2 separate regions of the Homo sapiens genome follow, and region 1 is linked to region 2. The links are contacts of gene promoters, found by promoter capture Hi-C in blood cells and fetal thymus (Javierre and others, 2016). All regions are on one chromosome and are shown on one strand. The core of a region is centred on a gene start or on the middle of the fragment in contact, and the rest is flanking DNA. Distances in the headings are between cores, read along the strand shown.

Region 1 (4,190 bases), core at 591-3,090, 970 kb before region 2:
CTGCATGTAGCTGCATCTTTTAAAAGCCTTAATATGGCTGGGTGCCATGGCTCACGCCTGTAATCCCAGCACTTTGGGAAGCTGAGGCAGGCGGATCACGAGGTCAGGAGATTGAGACCATCCTGGCCAACATGGTGAAACCCCGTCTCTACTAAAAATACAAAAAATTAGCTGGGTGTGGTGGCGCATGCCTGTAATCCCAGCTACTCGAGAGGCTGAGGCAGGAGAATCACTTGAACCAGGGAGTCAGAGGTTGCAGATGGCGCCTCTGCACTCCAGCCTGGCGACAGAGCAGGACTCCGTCTCAAAAAAAAAAAAAAAAAAAAAAAAGGCCTTAACACTAGACCATACTTTTCCCGATTAAAATTTCACTTTTTGAGACTTAGTCCCCTGTGTCTTTTAGAAACAGAGCATGCCCGTGGTCAAAGTCATCTTAGAAGTCATTTTGTCCAATGCCATCATTTTATAGAGACGACTAAGGCCGAAAGAGATCACTGACTTGTATCACATGAAAACTGCAAATGGAAGAACCAGCAGGCCTTGGGGTCTTCAGGCAGGTGCCCTGACCCCAAGTTTAATGCTTGTTACTTCTTACAGCCTACCCTTCAGCCAATTTTAAATGTTCATCAAGACTAAAAAAATACTGCTAATAGAGTAGCGGTTGGCAAACCTGCAGGTCCAATCTGCCCCACCCTCTGGTTTGTAAATAAAGTGTTACTGGAACACAGCTGTGCCCATTTATGTATTGATGTTGTCCGCTTTCCTGCTACAAGGGCAGAGTTGAGTAGGTGCCATAGAGGTTTGACTGGTGAAATCCCAAATATTTACCACCTAGCCCTTTACAGGAAAATTTTGCTAACCTCTGTTACAAAAGAAAGAAAATAGGAGGAAAATACTACTTGTTAAAATATCTAGCTTATGGGCGGGGGCAGTGGCTCACGCCTGTAATCCCATCACTTTGGGAGGCTGAGGCAGACGGATCACAAGGTCAGGACCATCGAGACCATCCTGGCTAACATGGTGAAACCCCGTCTCTACTAAAAATACAAAAAATTAGCAGAATGTGGTGGTGGGCGCCTGTAGTCCCAGCTACTTGGGAGGCTGAGGCAGGAGAATGGCGTGAACCCAGGAGGCAGAGCTTGCAGTGAGCAGAGATCGCGCCACTGCACTCCAGCCTGGGTGACAGTGAGAGAGACTTTGTATCAAATAAAAAAAAAATCTAGCTTACAATATCCTAGGGTGTACGCAACCTCAAGGAGTGGGTAGAATACTAAGTGTGAGGCACAGAGTGAGCACCCGTCAGCCATGGTCATTCTCTGTGAGGCTTTCAGACACAATAGAGCATACAATGGATAAGGTCGGAGACAGCTGAAACATGAGGCAAATACTTCAGGAGTCAGTTTTCTTACAGACAACTGGTAAAAGTAAAATGGGATTTTGCCTGCTTAAAATTAAACTGTGGCATTCAGTTAGAAGTATCAGGGTTTCTTTAAGCTTTACCTCTGAGTATTTTAATAATACTGCACTTATAGAGTGCATTACAATTATCTGTCTATGTGCCTGCCTCCCCTATACATACATACTAGTCTGTAACTACACTGGGGCAGGGACCATGTTTTACTCATTTTTATATCTGTACCTAGCCTGATACACAGTGGGGGCTCAATATATATTGTTGAATCAATGAGTGGAGCTCTTTGATGCTTTCTAAAGAAAAATCAACATTGCTTACATTGTTATTTGGTATCTAGCAGATTTGCACATTTGCCTTTGAGTGGTATATTGATTCAATGACATGAACAGGTTATACCAATCCCTGAAAGGTTGCTCAATTTGAAAACATTGTCAGAAATCATCAAGTAAATTATGCTTAGAAAGTTTAACATGTAATATCTTCTCAGGTGGTAAAGTTTGCTAAAACAACAAAGACTGACCTCACTGATTAGTTCCCTTTTTATGATGATAGCTGAATCTGGCTGAAGATGAGATGAATGTTCCCTGAGGAATTAAACTGAAAATGAAAAGTCTTGTTTTCCCAAGCAAAAACAGAGCTAACAGTTAGTTCCTCTAGGAGAAAATGTGTCTTCAACTGGTCAAGTTTTTATCTGCTGACTTTTAACTCTAGAAGCACTGATGGAGTCACCTCTAAAGCCAAAATAGTCTTAAACTTTGATTTGATTATAATCCAAAGCTTAGAACTGCCTATCTGAGAGCAGGTTGTAGATTACAATTTATAAATAAGCCTAGCTAACTCAGTAAAACATGTCACAGCAGGGTACATCATGCCTTTGCTTCCTGTAATGTCTTAGCAACTTCTTTCATATAAATAGTTAATATGACTCATATCACAGGGATTGTCTGTTACATTCCTGTTTTGCCAGTTAGGTTGGTTCCACAGCTAAAGGCTTGGCACGGAAATATAAAAACTCTGGACGACGGGTGTGTAGCCGCACAACAGCTGCATCTGAGGGCATTTCCGAATAAGCACAGATGTCTCCAGGGTGGCCATGTAGTCTGGAGCCCCAAGTGCTGATAGAGCATTTTAAATATCATCACATGGCTGGGTTGGCACTCCACCCAAGTTGTCAGTGGCACCCAAAATTTGTTAAAATAACAAATTTTATTCTCCCATTCTTTATTTTCAACTAAGAATTACTGAAAACTAAGTATTCTAATGAAAGCAGACTATAAAATGAAAGAAGATGATGGCCTTGGGAAGTCACACCATTTCCTACAAGTTGGTTCAGGCACACATGGCCTACACACCTTCTGATTCACCCTCAGATATTTATAGCAGCAAGGTGTTAGTTCTTGAGCCAATTAAGAAAGCCTGGTAGGTGAGTAAGGTATTTTGATATGATAAACAAAGTCTTACCAGGTGCTACCAAACCAAAGCCTAGATACAGAAGCATCCTTCTTTAGAAAGGTTTGGGTAATTTAGGTTATCCTGTGAATGTCTCTTTTTGGAAGAAAAAAAGGGAACACCATAAAGTGTACCTTGAAGCTTCACAGATTTCTGAGAAATTAATGACCAAGCTCAGGGCCTCAAACAGCTTCTAGTGAGGATCTGACCAGTCATATGTAAGAACTGGTTGGTTACTTTATAAGCAGAGACTGAAGAAAACTCCTTCAGATCTCATCCTCCCTAGTTGCTTTCATTTGCCTGTCTCAGGGGAGTTACAGAAAGCTCAAAAGGAAGATATTACAGGAAGTTCTTAAACTCCCAAACTAAAACTGCTTGTACACATCTCCACCCCAGTCAAAGTGTGGCTCTGCAAGACATGATTGATGTCATATTGATGGCACCTCACACATAATAAACTCATTCTTTCTTAAGAAAGGTGCCTTTTACAGGGTTGGCCATGGAGAAAAAGAGGCAGGGCAATCACAGTGTAAACCTCCTCTCTTTACGCAGGCCACTATTTCTTTAATGTTTTGGGTATTAAGAAATTAGTGGCCCCACGCCTTATCAGAACACAACAGTCTAATCCAGTTTTTTTTTTTTTTTAAAGAGACAGGGTGACAGGGTTTTGCTCTGTCACCCAGGCTGGAGTACAGTGGCACAATCGTAGCTCACTGTAACCTTGAGCTCCTGGACTCAAGCGATCCTCCTGCCTCAGCCTCCCAAGTATCTAGGACTACAGACACAAGCCATCACAACCAGCTAATTATTTATTTATTTATTTTTTATAGAAATGGGGTCTCACTATGTTGCCCAATCTAGTTTGGAACTCCTCGCCTGAAGCAATACTCCCACCTTGGCCTCCCAAAGTGCTGGGATTATAGGTATGAGCCACCATGCCTAGCATCTAGGTAACTTTTTAAATCATATAACTTTAGTTGCTAGGACTTTTAATTCAAAAGAAAATAATACACTGGAGAATGTGCAGTATAATAATAGAGCTGGAAAATACGTAGAATAATTCACTGGAGAATATGTAGTATTTCATTGACCTCAACCCTAGAGAAGCAACTTCTTAGTAGACTGATGCCCAGCAGAAATAGGCAACCCCTGCGTGCAATTTCACGCCACATTCAGTCAAGATGACTCAGTTTTCAGCCACTCCACCACTGCCGATCTCCCTTCCCCACAACTTTGCAAAGGCAGATAACCAGATTAAGTTGTGTGGAAATTTTCATGACTAAAGCAAAACCTCCAGCTCTAACCAAATTAAATCACTAGTTACAAG
Region 2 (4,213 bases), core at 396-2,895:
AGTTTTAGGGTGCACTGGAAAACATGACTTTTTATTACTACCTGGTATGTGCATCACTTATAAAAAAGACAACAATAAAAAAGTATTCCTTATAAAAAATAGCAGAAAATGATCCATAACTACAGAAGTATCTTCTTGTGGTCATGAGTAATTTTAATTTTTGAGAATCTCACAAATTGGAAGCTAAATAAAGCAATTCAAGTGTCCTTTAAAAACAACAACAAAATCAGCATGTAGAAATGAAAGGTACTCTCAGAAAGGTGGCAATCTCCTGCTACATTTGAGGAGGCTGGAACTACTGTATACAAGATATATGGATTAACTCAGTCACATTAAATCATTCATGATTTAGGCAACTCCAGATTGGGTTTGTCTAAAATCTGTTAGCACCTGGGTTCTTTCCAAACACCAGCAAGCAATTTTTACACAATCAGGTCTTTCCAAAGCCCATGACAATTTTCCTTTAAACCCTCTCCTTCCCTTCTACTGTTCTTTTCTTTGAATTCCACGTGCATTCTTGGAAAGACAGCAAGCAGTTAAACTCTCACCACCTCTCCACAGGTGAGGGACTAGGGACATGTGTAAAACGGAGTCACCTTCCTGTTCTGGCCATTGTCAATTTTTTTTTTCCTAAGGCATCTTGTTATAGCAACCATTCTAAAATTGTTATAGCAACCATTCTAAAATTTAAGGCAGTGGGTTGATCAGGACCTGAATTAGTTTCTGCCTGAGATGACTGGAAGGTCCCCTACTCCCTCCCCAGCCAGAAAAAGTCACATGGAATGAAAATCTATTAGAGAATCCCCTCAGTGTAGTCTTTCAGGAAGCATCTTCTCATTTCCCCATCCAAAATCATGGTAAGGACATCCAGTGACAGATGTCAAAGGGAAAGGATAAGGCAGCAGGAAGAGAGAGGAGCCTAAGAGACTGGAAAACATTCGATAATATAAAATGGGAAAATGGGAAATTCTGCAAAAAAAAAGAAGTCATATCATATTTCCTTTCACAGACACCAACCCAGTGCGTAGCTCCTTTATTTCTTTACACACTACCCCCTCCAACAGGGGATAAAAGATATGTTTTCTAAAACTTAATTTGGTACATTTCAGATAACCACATTCAATTCAACAAAGATGTATTAAGCATAAGACATTTACTGAGCATAAGAAATTCAGACACTGGAGGCCGGGCGCAGTAGCTCATGCTTGTAATCCCAACACTTTGGGAGACCAAGGCAGGCGGATCACTTGAATCCAGGAGTTCCAGACCAGCCTAGACACATGGTGAAACCACATCTCCACTAAAAATGCAAAAATTAGCTGGGCACGGTGGCGCACACCTGTAGTCCCAGCGACTCGGGAGGCTGAGGTGGGAGAACCAACTGAGCCCAGGAAATTGAGGCTGCAGTGAGCCATGCTCACACCATTGCACTCCAGCCTGGGTGACAGAGTGAAATCCTGTCTCAAAAAAAAAAAAAAAAAAAAAGAAAGAAAGAAACACAGAAAAAGAAAAAGAAAGAAAGAAATTCAGACACTGGAATGTCAGAGTCAGTCTCTCCCTTGATGAGGTTACCAAGGTGTAACAGGAAGTATACAAATACGCACAGCTAGAATGTAAGGCACAGGCCGCAGGAGAAGTGCATGGAGAAGGGAGAGAAATTGTACCTGGCCTCCTGAAAGACGCAGCCTCTGAAATGAATATTGAAGACTGGGGAGGATTTAAACAGGTAGAGACGGATGGAATGGTAAGGGACTTTCCCTTCTTCATATTCAGAAGGCTGTGAGCAGAAGCTAGGGAGCCTGAACATACACAGGGAACAGTTTCATTTGGCTGGAGGAGGGGAGAAGTGAGGTAAGCTGAGTAGTAGACAGGGATCCTATCATGGAAGGTCTTGAATACCAAGCTAAGAAATTTGAGCTCTCTTCTGTGGAACTGGGGGAGCAGTGGGTGGTTTTTGAGCAGGGGAGTGACCTAAGATTTGTGCTTTAGAACAATCACTCTAAAAATGGATTGTATGATGACCTGGAGGAAAAGGCTGGAGTGTCATAACAAGTTAGGAAACTGCAATAATAGTCTGCACAAAGGGCTCTGGGGATGGAGTACCGCTCAGTTGTCAGAGGAAGCATTCTTCTGGTGGTAATATGTGAATCTAAAAGGTAAATTTGACCGGGCATGGTGGCTCACGTCTGTAATCCCAGCACTTTGGGAGGCCGAGGCAGGTGGATCACCTGAGGCCAGGAGTTTGAGACCAGCCTGGCCAACATGGTGAAACCCCGTCTCTACTAAAAATACAAAAAATTAGCCAGGCATGGTGGCGTGCCCCTGTAATCCCAGCTACTCGGGAGGCTGAAGCAGGTGAATCGCTTGAGCCCGGGAGGTGGAGGTTGCAGTGAGCTGAAATCGTGCTACTGCACTCCAGCCTGGGCGACAGCAAGACTCCATCTCGAAAAATAAAAAATAAAATAAAATAAAATAAAATGTAAATCTAGCTCCACCTTTAATGTAGCAAGGGCTAGCCTCCTCAGGAGTGGCTGCCTACATTCAAAACGATTCTCACCAACTTCTTCCACAGGACACAGGGCTCGGGAGCAGCGCCAGCCCGACATCGGCGGAGGAGCACCGGAAGTTCTGCAGCACTGGCTTTCTTTGCTCTTCCACCTATGCAAGCTCCTTCTCTCTTGTGGCTTGCCGAGCCTGGTTAGCTCTGAGACCGGAAGTTCTGAAGTCAGCTGGCATCCTACATCTGTGCAACCTACTTCTCTCCCCATCCCACCACAGAAACCAGAGCCTCGAGGCTTTTGGCTTGGGTGCTGCCTTCACAGTTTAGGTTTTGGTAAGAAGAAAGCTTATCTTCATGTCATGAGAAAGAAAAAAAAATGTATCTTTACGTAACGAGCTGAAAGAACAAAACAAGTATACCTAAGCCAAGTACATGCTATCTTTATTTCTTTATTTCCACACTGAAATTTAGTCAGGGATAAAACTTACTTTTTTAATCACACGAAGTTTGAAAAATAGGAAGTACTATGGGAAACACCTAATGCATCAAAACCCCTGTGCATTTTATCTTTGTCTTATGTTTGCTGGATTTTAATCTTAGTAGGTTTCCTGTTGCAACAATACAAAAACAGATAAAGAAAAAACTTAATAACCTTTCCTACCACAAATGTGAACAGCCCGTGTTCTTGTTGGTAGGTACAGATACAGATATATGAGATTATCGTTATTTATTATCAGAAAATGGGATTTTACTATTTCCCACACACACACTTTTTTTGAGATGGGGGTCTTGCTATATTGTCCAGGGTGGTCTCAAATTCTTGGGTTCAAGCGATCCTCCCACCCAAGTATCTGTAATCCAAGTAGTCTGGATTACAGATGCATACCACCATGCCTGGCTTATTTCCCTCTCTTACAATTTGCAAAAATAATGATGTACTGAGGACATCCCCCAGGTCGATAGCTACAGGATTAAATCATTTCTCTTAATAACTATATATAATACTATTCCATTGTATGGATATGCCATAACATATTCAATTATTCCCCTTCGAATGGGCATTTGGGTTGTTTCTAGTTTGTACCACAACAAACAAGCCTCTATCAGTGCTTATCCACATTGCACAGAGAAGTGCTACCAGAGCCAAAAGCATTTTCTGAGTACCTACAATATGCTATTTTTATGAAATATACAAAAGAAATGTGTGACATAGTCCTTTCCTAAAAGACTGCCAAATATAGTTGGGGAAATAAGCCTAACCCACACAAAACACTTAAACTGTGTAAGACAGTACTGAACCATGTTCTACAGACCTCATGCAAATGGATGCCAAGTTGTCCTTCTGCACAATGACAGATTGGAGAGGTAATCTGGAGGTGCCTTTAGCCATAATATTCTAGGAGCCTTCTTGATTCAGAAAAGGGGAAGCATGAAAGGCTAAGAAGCCAGAGTGGTGTCTCTGGAGGAGGCAGGACTTGAACAAGGCCTGAACATGGTTTAGATGGAGGAAGGAAAAAAATGTATTTTGGAATGACAAATGAGGCAGGGCACAGCACTGACTTTAGACATGTATATGCTCAGGAGAATGTCCTGAGTTACAGCATTTCTAAACACCCTCTTCTCATACTCCTCCCACCACCACCACTCGCCAGACTCTGCTTAAAGATATAAAAAATTCCCAAGCTTGGCTGCTGCAGAACATCACACTAACAC

What was found. Contacts are between HindIII fragments. The CHiCAGO score rates a contact against its expected background, and 5 or more counts as called.
Region 1: a contact is called between a fragment that was not itself captured here and the fragment with the promoter of ANKRD44-AS1 in region 2, in 1 of 17 cell types (non-activated CD4 T cells). The highest score is 5.6, in non-activated CD4 T cells.

What each region holds. Positions count from the first base shown.
Region 1 is chr2:196,230,787-196,234,976 of GRCh38, forward strand. The region is part of intron 21 of HECW2 (HECT, C2 and WW domain containing E3 ubiquitin protein ligase 2); the gene reads right to left. Among named protein-coding and RNA genes, the nearest start is that of HECW2-AS1, 27 kb to the right of the region's middle. The HindIII fragment of the contact is 697 bases long and covers 1,493-2,189 here.
Region 2 is chr2:197,196,346-197,200,558 of GRCh38, forward strand. ANKRD44-AS1 (ANKRD44 antisense RNA 1) reads left to right here and starts at 1,646. Exons shown (of 2, transcript NR_135584.1): 1 at 1,646-1,744; 2 at 2,573-2,928. All of the region lies in intron 1 of ANKRD44 (ankyrin repeat domain 44), which reads right to left. RefSeq lists an enhancer at 2,692-2,761. The HindIII fragment of the contact is 4,177 bases long and covers 1-2,843 here.